2 separate regions of the Homo sapiens genome follow, and region 1 is linked to region 2. The links are contacts of gene promoters, found by promoter capture Hi-C in human tissues and cell types (Jung and others, 2019). All regions are on one chromosome and are shown on one strand. Each heading gives the region's core, a stretch centred on a gene start or on the middle of the fragment in contact. The rest is flanking DNA. Distances are from core to core; before and after follow the strand shown.

Evidence for each region. The method cuts DNA at HindIII sites, captures the fragments that hold promoters and counts their contacts. A contact is called where the count stands out against the background at its distance.
Region 1: a fragment that was not itself captured here is called in contact with the fragment with the promoter of FAM169A in region 2 in 2 of the 25 tissues and cell types used here (H1 embryonic stem cells and aorta).

What each region holds. Positions count from the first base shown.
Region 1 is chr5:75,165,478-75,170,033 of GRCh38, reverse strand. ANKRD31 (ankyrin repeat domain 31) reads left to right here. Exons shown (of 26, transcript NM_001372053.1): 11 at 913-1,055. Among named protein-coding and RNA genes, the nearest start is that of ANKRD31, 69 kb to the left of the region's middle. The HindIII fragment of the contact is 3,856 bases long and covers 1-3,408 here.
Region 2 is chr5:74,864,818-74,869,262 of GRCh38, reverse strand. It overlaps FAM169A (family with sequence similarity 169 member A), which reads left to right and starts at 2,876. Exons shown (of 13, transcript NM_001376049.1): 1 at 2,876-3,098. It overlaps FAM169A-AS1 (FAM169A antisense RNA 1), which reads right to left and starts at 3,370. Exons shown (of 1, transcript NR_134288.1): 1 at 1,988-3,370. RefSeq lists silencers at 2,940-3,189, 3,260-3,429. The HindIII fragment of the contact is 6,065 bases long and covers 1,038-4,445 here.

The DNA.
Region 1 (4,556 bases), core at 231-2,730, 300 kb before region 2:
TCGTCAAAACTCAGTAATAATACTATAGGAGAAACTTCTTCCCTGAGGCAGTGGTTCTCAACTGGAGTGCTTTTGCTCCCACCCCCTCCCCAGGGGACTTTTGGCAGTTTCTGGAAACATGTTTAGTTGTTAGAACTAGGATAGGAGTTTCTACTATCATCTGGTGGGTTGAGGCCAGGGATGCTGGTAAACATTCTGTGATACTCATAAAAACTAAGAAACATAAGCTGAGATTCGTAATCCCTATTTTATGATGAGTGTTCTGAGAAGAGCTAGTGAAAGTCTCTTTTGACGTGCAACTTTAAAGTTTTCTTACATCTGTCATATGATTTACTGGAATTTAATAAATATCTGTAACTTATACCATTGTCCTTGGCCAACAAAGAAAAAGAATATTTGCCTGTATGACTGGTTTTCTTGGAGCAGTTTGTGGTTTGTTAAACTACTATAAATAGCTTTTTGTAAAGAAGGAGAAAAAATGAATATATCCTTTTGAACTGAGTGATATGTAGTCCAGCCAGCTGGATACTTTAATGGAAGTACCTTGAACTAGAAATAAAGCTTTTCTCCCCTCATCTCTGCAGAAAAGCAGCCTGCAACCAGCATTCACTTTGAGTTGATAATGACTCCTGCACAGCCTATTTATTTGGAGAGGTCAAGATTACTTTCAAATATTTTGTTTCTTTTCACATTTTTGCACAGCAGAGTTGAGGGGTAGGAGTTTGATTTGTCCTTCAGGTTTATTGAACCTACCAAATAATACAGTGTGCTTTCAGGTGATACTATCTTGACTCATATAATCAAAATATTTTTGAAGAAAGAACTTAGAATCAAAGTTGTTTTTTAAGGGCAAGCACAAAACATTATTAAGATGCCAAATGTAAACAAATGCCGTATCTTTTTGTATGATAGGTTGGACAGCACTTCATGAAGCTAGTGTAGGAGGATTTTATCGGACAGCAAGTGAACTATTAAAAGGTGGAGCAGATGTAAATATCAAAGGATTATACCAGATTACTCCCCTACATGATGCAGTGATGAATGGACATTATAAGGTACTGTGATGCTTTTATTTGCAGAACAAATACTATATTTTGCAAATATTAAATATCTCTGGGACCACACAATAGAAAAACATACAGAAATTTTAGTTTAATTTCATTCTGCTAATGAATACTTAGAATTTATAATGAAATTTTACTGTGTGATGGGTTTGTTGTGTGTAATATGATAGGTGTCATTTTACATGTTACTTTTAATAACCATATAGAGCTTTTTGGTTACATAGTATTTTTTTTCAACTTGTTTTCCTTTAAAACTCCTTTAATATGGTGCTTTATAGGGTTTAGAAGAATGTTTCCTTCTTATAGAGTGTTACGCAGTTATGTCCAGTCCTGATAGGAGGTTTACAGCTTTATGGAGTCTGGTGTCACTTTCATAATCAGCCTGAGGCAGGATAATGTTTCTGATCAGTTCAGCTTAATGATCAGCCAGGATATATCAGCAGGTTAAAATATCAGACTACTATAATTGCATACCAGTTGGTTAATAGTAACTGCAATAAATGGTAACATTAAGATTATGAATTCTAGTATACATGGTTTATCTCAGAAACCATATTTATTTTAGCTTACTACACATTTTTTCTGGCCCTGGGACAACATTGCAAGGCTGAGGCACTTGCTGAAGATATCTTGTTATTCATTTCAGTTACTGAAAGTTGCCTCTGGGTTTAAAAACTTCTAGGATGGGAAAGGGTATTAACTATCTGGGATTAAGAAGATTTGTTCTGCCTATTTACAGAAGAAATGCCTAACACAGGCAGAGGCGGAGAAGGCTGCTGGGAGCCATGGGAATAGACAGGGCATATTCCTTCATAGTATGAAACAGTACTTCAGAAGGGTTTAGGCAGTTTTTTTTGTTGTTTGTTTTTCATTGTTTGTTTGCTTGTTTGATAATGTATATCTTGGTGATGGGTGGTCATTTTTGCATATAGTTTAGAGGACTAGGAGGAGAGAATTCTTCCCAGGATCCAGTTTAATGGCCAGAAGAATGCAGGCTTGGACATGTGACAGTGTGAATCCTTTCTCTGTCAGAAGCAGAGAAACCTCACGCCAAAGCACTTCTTCTGTCTAACACCATAGCCCATTTGCTCCCTCACTTCCCAGAGCTGACCTATACTGATCAAGAGTCTTTTCTTCCTTTGAGTAAAGTGAGCCCTGAGCATTTTAATTTTTCTTCTTTTCTTTCCTATTTGTTCCTTTGCCCCACTTCGAACTTGGCTCTAATCCATTTCTGCCTCACAGTCTAGCATTGGCTGTCTCCTATTTGGCCTTTGCATATATGAAATAATCTCTGGTTCCTTCAATGATGTTAAAGGAACCAAAGACACAGGCCTCTATTCCCAGAATCCAGTTTCCCCACTTACTGCATTCCCTCTTGCAATCCTCCAATCTGCCTGTGGTTCATATGCTCTTGGCACCATGGCATATCCTGACTAGTGGTGAGAGAAGAGAATGACAAGACAGGAGTGGAAGTCTAGAGAAAAGTCATGAAAATTAAAAGTTGAAACCAGTAGTTGGTGTGATGTCAGGCAAAGATGATCAGAGAAATGGCCTAGGCCCTGGGTATTGGATTGCTGAAATGCCTTTGGTGTCACAGGAGTAAAGATGTAAAACAGGGAAGCCTTGGGAACCCAATGCTGGTCCTACTACCTGGGGAGTGTGAGCTTCTTTAAGCATTCTGGAGTGTTGAAGGAACTAGAATATATTATCTTACAGGTCTTAATTGTTTTATGGGAGAGATACTAAAAGATAATATCCTATTTTCTAAAAGTGAAAAAGCAGTAAAAAAAAAAAATCCACATCTTACCATTCCATTAATTTGAAATATCCGTAATAGTCAAATCTATAGAGACAGATTAGAGATGGGGGGTCTAGAGGGTGGGGAATGGTGAGTGACAACTAATGGTTAAAGGGTTTCTTTTAGGGGGAATGAAAATGTTCCAAAATTAGATTGTGGTGAGGGTTATACAACCCTTTTAATATACTAAAAAACAATGAATTATATTCTTTAAATAGGTAGACTGTGTGGCATGTGAATTACATCTTAATAAAACTGTTAATAAATACATTTTTTAAAGAGTGGAAAAGTTAGAATTTGAGAATTACAAATGATCAGCTCAATGTTGTTCCTTAGAAAATGTGCAAAAAGTTATTAAATATATGGTTGGAAGACATAGGCAAGAATGTAGTGCTCTTTGGGAATCATAGGCATCACTAAGAACAAGTCATGCCAGACTAACCTTTATTTCTCTTTTATTAGGTTTACCTTGTTAGTAGGTAAAGGTAATGGCATTGAAATAAGCTATCAAAACTTTAACAAAGTTTTTATTTGAAGTATCCTGTAATCTGTGAGTGTATGGGATGTTGAAATGAAGGGGTTTGTTGGCATTGATTTGGGGATTCACATATATTGAAAGAATAGGCCTCAGACATGGTGATTATTCATTTTATGTGTGTCTACAGTGAACCCTTTTTTGTTTTTGTTTTTGTTTTTGTTTTAGACAAGAGTTTCCCCCTATCACCCAGGCTGGAGTGTAGTGGCGTGATCTCGGTTCACTGCCACCTCTGCCTCCTAGGCTCAAGCGCTTCTTGTGCCTCAGCCTCTTGAGTAGCTGGGATTGCAGGCATGTATCACCATGCTCAGCTAAGTTTTTGTATTTTTAGTAGAGATGGGGTTTCACCAGTTTGACCAAGCTGGTCTTGAGCTCCTGGCCTCAAGTGATCCGCCCGCCTAGGCCTCCCAAAGTGCTGGGATTACAGGCAGGAGCTGCCACACCTGGCCTTGCAGTAAACTCTCTTGTGAAAATTGATTATACATTATATTATGTGGTAGAACTCTGGACTGTTTGGCTAGAACATGAACTGATTTTGTTATTGGAGTATTTTAAAGAAATCCCAGACATAATACTATTTTACCCATAAATACTTGAGCCCAAACCTCTAAAAGATAAGAAAAAGTTTTTCATACTCGCGATATCATTTCACCTAATAAAAGTTAAGTTTCTTTATACCATTTAACATCCAGTCTATATTCAGATTTCTGAGGTTATCTAAAATATGTGTTTTTATAGAAAGTTTTAATTTGAATTAGAATACATTAAGCCTCATACATCATATGTGTTTGTTATGTATCTTAAATATGTTTTAATCTACAACAGTCCTTTCTATATTTTAGGATTTTTATGTCTCCTATTTGTTGAAAAAAGTGGCTTATTTGTCCTATAGAATTTCCCAAATTCTGGTTTTGGCTCATTTTATCTTTGTGGTATTGTTTAGCTTATTTCTTCACATATTTTCTGTAAATTGTTATGTTTTGATGGAAAATCTACTTAGAGACCACAGTCTGGATGCAAGGTATGCTCATTGCTATTGGATGTTATTGCTTTTAGGCGTTTTCAGTGAACTATATCCTTTTAGAAGGAAAAAAAATCATGAGTTTATGCTGATATTTTCATTTCAGACTTCATAGCATAGATTTATGCTTAACTTTCG
Region 2 (4,445 bases), core at 1,627-4,126:
GAAAAATGTGTTTTTCAAAAACTAACAGATTATAAAATTTTGCTTAGTATATACCAGAGGAAGTTTTTACAAGTTTTCTTTCTAACTTGTAAACTTGTAACTAGTTTTAATTCTTCCTTCCTGTCTGGGAAAATACTAGATCTAAGAAATTATTTAAACTTGAAAGTATAGGACATTTAGTATGTTTTAGGGCTTCAAAAGCAAAATCTATCCATATGGTATAGGATTTTGTGCACATTTAAGGCAGTATGGAATTCTGGTTAAGGGAGTGTGCTCTTGAGCCAACATGCTAGGATTACTATCTGTGTGACCATGGGCAAATTGCTTAGTTTCTCTGTGTGCCTCAAGACTCCTCTTAGGTAAACTGGGGGTAACAGTGTATACCTGCAAGGATGGTAAGAGGATTAAGTGAATTAATTTCCATAAAGAAGTCTGTAGAGTGCCTGGCAATTTGTTAGCTGTCAAAAACATCAGTTATGATTTTAGCTATTAAGAATTCCTCTTCCCCAGTGCAACTAAAGAGCTCTTTTCTGGGTCATGTGTATTAGTAACCTCCAAAATCCAGGGTTGTGGCAAGCTTCTTTTACTTAAGATGGTTCCACTCCTCTTTAAACATAGAGGAAAAATACAATCAGAACGAACTCTTAACATGTTTCCTTTGCTAATAACAAAGTAATAATTAAAGCAAGCATTGCAAAAACAAAAACCAAAGCAATAATCCTTTTACTCTAAAAACGGTTCAGAAAAAAGCCTCAAAGCATATTTCAAAATATTGTGGTAACAATTTTCAGCATATACTAATCTGACAAAGGCTCATGTTTTTAGTTGTTGTTCTTTGCCCACTAAGATAAGCAAAATTTATCTCAGCCAAAGAGGGAAGTCAATGGTGATTTAAAAAGAAAAAACCAAAAACTCTCAAAAATAGTGTCATTTGCAAGTAGGGAAAAGAGAATCAGGCCTGGCGCAGTGGCTCACGCCTGTAATCCCAGCACTTTGGGAGGCCGAGGCGGGCGGATCGCTTGAGCTCAGAAGTTCAGGACCAGCCTGGGCAGCATGGCGAAACTCCGTCTCTACAAAAATTAGCGAGGTGCGTTGGTGTGCACCTCTGTCCCAGCTCTTCCGGAGGCTGACGCCGGAGAATCGCTTGAGCTTGGGAGGCAGAGGTTGCAGTGAGTCGAGATCGCGCCATTGCATTCCAGCCTGCCTAGGCTGTGGGAGTGAAACCCTGTCTCAAAAAAAAAAAAAAAAAAAAAAAAAAAAATTGGACCTTTTCTTTTATAGGTCTGGGTGAATGTAGTTCTGTCTCCTACCAGAATAGCCAGACATCTGGGAGCCAGGCCTCCCTGACCCAGGCACAAATACCCGCATACTTCTAAAACAATAGCTAAGAGTCAATCACACCCAGGCATTTCAAATATTATCAACAAGTTGTATTGGTTAGCTTTACACTAAGGCCTGAGGCTTCAACATCTGTAGGGCATAGTCTGGTAGCCAAAGCTTCCCCAAATGGCAATTGTTTGGGATTACCCTGGGGACTCCTACTTACACATAGCTCTAGAAATGTAAATACAAGTCATATAATTTCATTCATCACTGGCTATGGGTAGAACCCAACTACCCAAAATTCCTGCTCTATTAAATCTAATTCATTAAGTTTCATTAAAATGGTAAATGATGTGTAATAGTAAAGATTTTGGCTAATTAAATATTATACAAATGAAACAATAGATTCTTATATGGCAGAAAAGCTTTTTTTAAAAATCAGGGTCAAATATATCTATATCAACAAGCATTCTTTGAAGTATTTTTTGATCTTGCTAATTTTGCTAATCATTAGTAAATTCGTGAAAGTTGGTATTGTGATTGCTAAATATTTCCCAGGAATGAAAGAAGCAATTTTCAACTTTTCTGGATGAGCTGAACATAATACTACGGTTCTTGGATGATGAGTAAAAGAAAGTCTTGACATTAATACTTAGATACAATATTGTTTCTCAATACAGTTATTAAATATATTTAGACTACAATACGCATTACCTTAAAGACAATTTATCATGTTTTAAATGCTGGAGGGCTAATTTTCAGTAGGAGTGTGTAATTAGCAAAGGCGCCAGAGGCCATAAGACGGTAGAATAGAGCTGGGAGAGGCACGGGAGGAAAGCCGGATGGAACCCTGTTGTCTTTCTGGGTCAGGGTTATTCTGTACCGGTTAAACGGTGAAAGAGAAAAGGTCAGCGCAGGAATGTGGTATTTCCCTGACATCTCCAGATGAAAGTCCGGGCTCTAGGACTTCTGTAGACTGTGAAAGCAGCCCACGATTCTAACTTGCATGCACCTAAGTGGCAGTAGGTTTAGGATGAAAGTGGTGGGGCGGAGGCCGGCGGTCCTCGCCCGTGCCCTCTGCACCCCTGTCCCGAGGCCGGGATGGCCGCGCCCACTCTGGGTAAATTTCAGGAGGGCCTACGCGGGGCTGGAGAACTCCACCGGGCTATGCGAACAGAATCCTGCGAAGGTCGGCATTAAAGGAATACGCAAAATCAGCGTTGCAGCCCCCGCGGCTTAACCGCATCTATTTTTATATCTAAGCCAAGGTCACTCTTTAATACCAGGCCATTGCCCTGAGCTGGGCGTCGCGCTGCCGGGTGACGGCGGCCGGGGCGGAGAGAGGGGGCGCGGGTGGCGAGGCGGGGGCCGCGTGACGCCCCCGGGCTGGCCAAGCCCGCACCTGCCGGGCCGGCGCCTGAAAGCCGGGGCTGGAGGGAGGCAGGGCGGCGTCCCAGGCTCCGAGGAGGGGCCGCTCCGCGCTGGCGGGCGGGGGGATTCGCGGTGGGCGCGGGCGCGGAGCGGAAGCGAAGGCTGGAGGCGCTGCGGCGCTAGTGCGTCACGTCGTCGGAGGGCACGGTGGGCCGCGGCCGACCCGCGACGAGGAGCCGGGCGTCCGGGGCGAGCGGGAGGCAGCCGCACTCGCCCTGGCAGCCGCGAGCTGTGCGGCCTGGGACCGGCCGGAGGTCGCCAGCGAGCAGCCGCCGGCTCCATTCATTCGCGCGGCTCCGCCTCCTTTCCCGGGCTCTTCCAGCGGCTCCCGGGGCGCGTCTGAGGTGAGTGCGCTCCCTCTCCCCGGCGCGGACCGCTGGGTGAGGCCGAGACGGCCGCGCCGGGCCCCGCGCCCCCGCCAGCACCAGACCCGCGGACACCGAGCGGCGACGCGGGCCACCGGCTGTGGGCGGCCCCTGCGGGCTGGGCCTGGCGCAGACCAGTGCGGGCCGCCTGGACCCGGGGCTCGCGTCCAGCTGGCGGCGGTCTGCGGGGATCCCGTAGGGCGTGTGGCGCCCCCAGGTGCGCCGGCCTCCGCCTCGGCGCCACCATTTTGTGTGAGGGAATGCCCGTCTTCGCTCGCCTCCGCCGCGGGCCGGTTCGCAGCTGCGGCTTGCCGCCCCCTCCCCTCGCCCTCTCCCCACCTGGATGCTTGGCGTGCGAGCTGATTGCTTTGGCTTGGGGAGACGCGGACTCGGGGAGGTGTGGAACTTCAGCGTTTAGACTCGGTTCACCCGACCAGGTGGCCTCCAGAGATGCTCTGACCGCCTTCCTTTACCTGTAACTACTTTTGGAACAGATATTGTATGATTCTCCCTCCTCTGGAATGCTGGTCGTTGCAGTTTTGTCCTAATTGTGTTCTCAGCTCTCCATTATGCCATTTTTCAAGAGGCCTGTGCCTCAGGAGGTGAAGCCTTGAACCCTGGGTGGTTTATGGCTCGGGGGTCTGGATTACACTGACTCCCATGACTGTCCTTGGGGAGAAAGGATGAAGCATCTCACTGGCTTTTCAGCGTCTGGGAAGCGGCGTGGGTATCGTATCGGGTGGATTCGAAGATAACCACCTGATGCAGGTCACCTTCCCCCGCTGGGAGAGCCGTTCCTAACGTAAATTAAAACGTGTGTACGGGTTTTTGGGGGATTGGGACCGGAGGGACATATTTCTAAAAAATTTCCAGAAGGGAAAGTTTTCATTGTGATTCTCACAGAACTGTGACACAATTTGTCATTTTCAAGGTTCCTGAGAATTTGGGAATTCTTTTAATTCGTTGGCTTCTTGCGAATTACTACTTACGAACTGAGCAGATTATACCCAAGCCATTTATATTTTGTCATTGCATCACAGACAGGGATTACAATCGGGAGTGCTGGCTGTTGCATAATGCACACATTTGGGCCCTGGAGGGAATTCACCGAAGTGGATCTGGGTTTGGTGTGCCATGCGTTTTTATTTTTTACACAGGATGTACAGATGATCTTTGCAAACTACGTCCCTTATCGTGCTATAAAGTGTTTACAAGAGGAAAGATTTTTATTGACTAGTATGGACCAGACTAAAATTTTTAGTGTTTTAGTTTTGCTTGTTTTGGAGGAAAGGCAAGGAATGAGATGGTGAGAGGCACCTGGGAAAA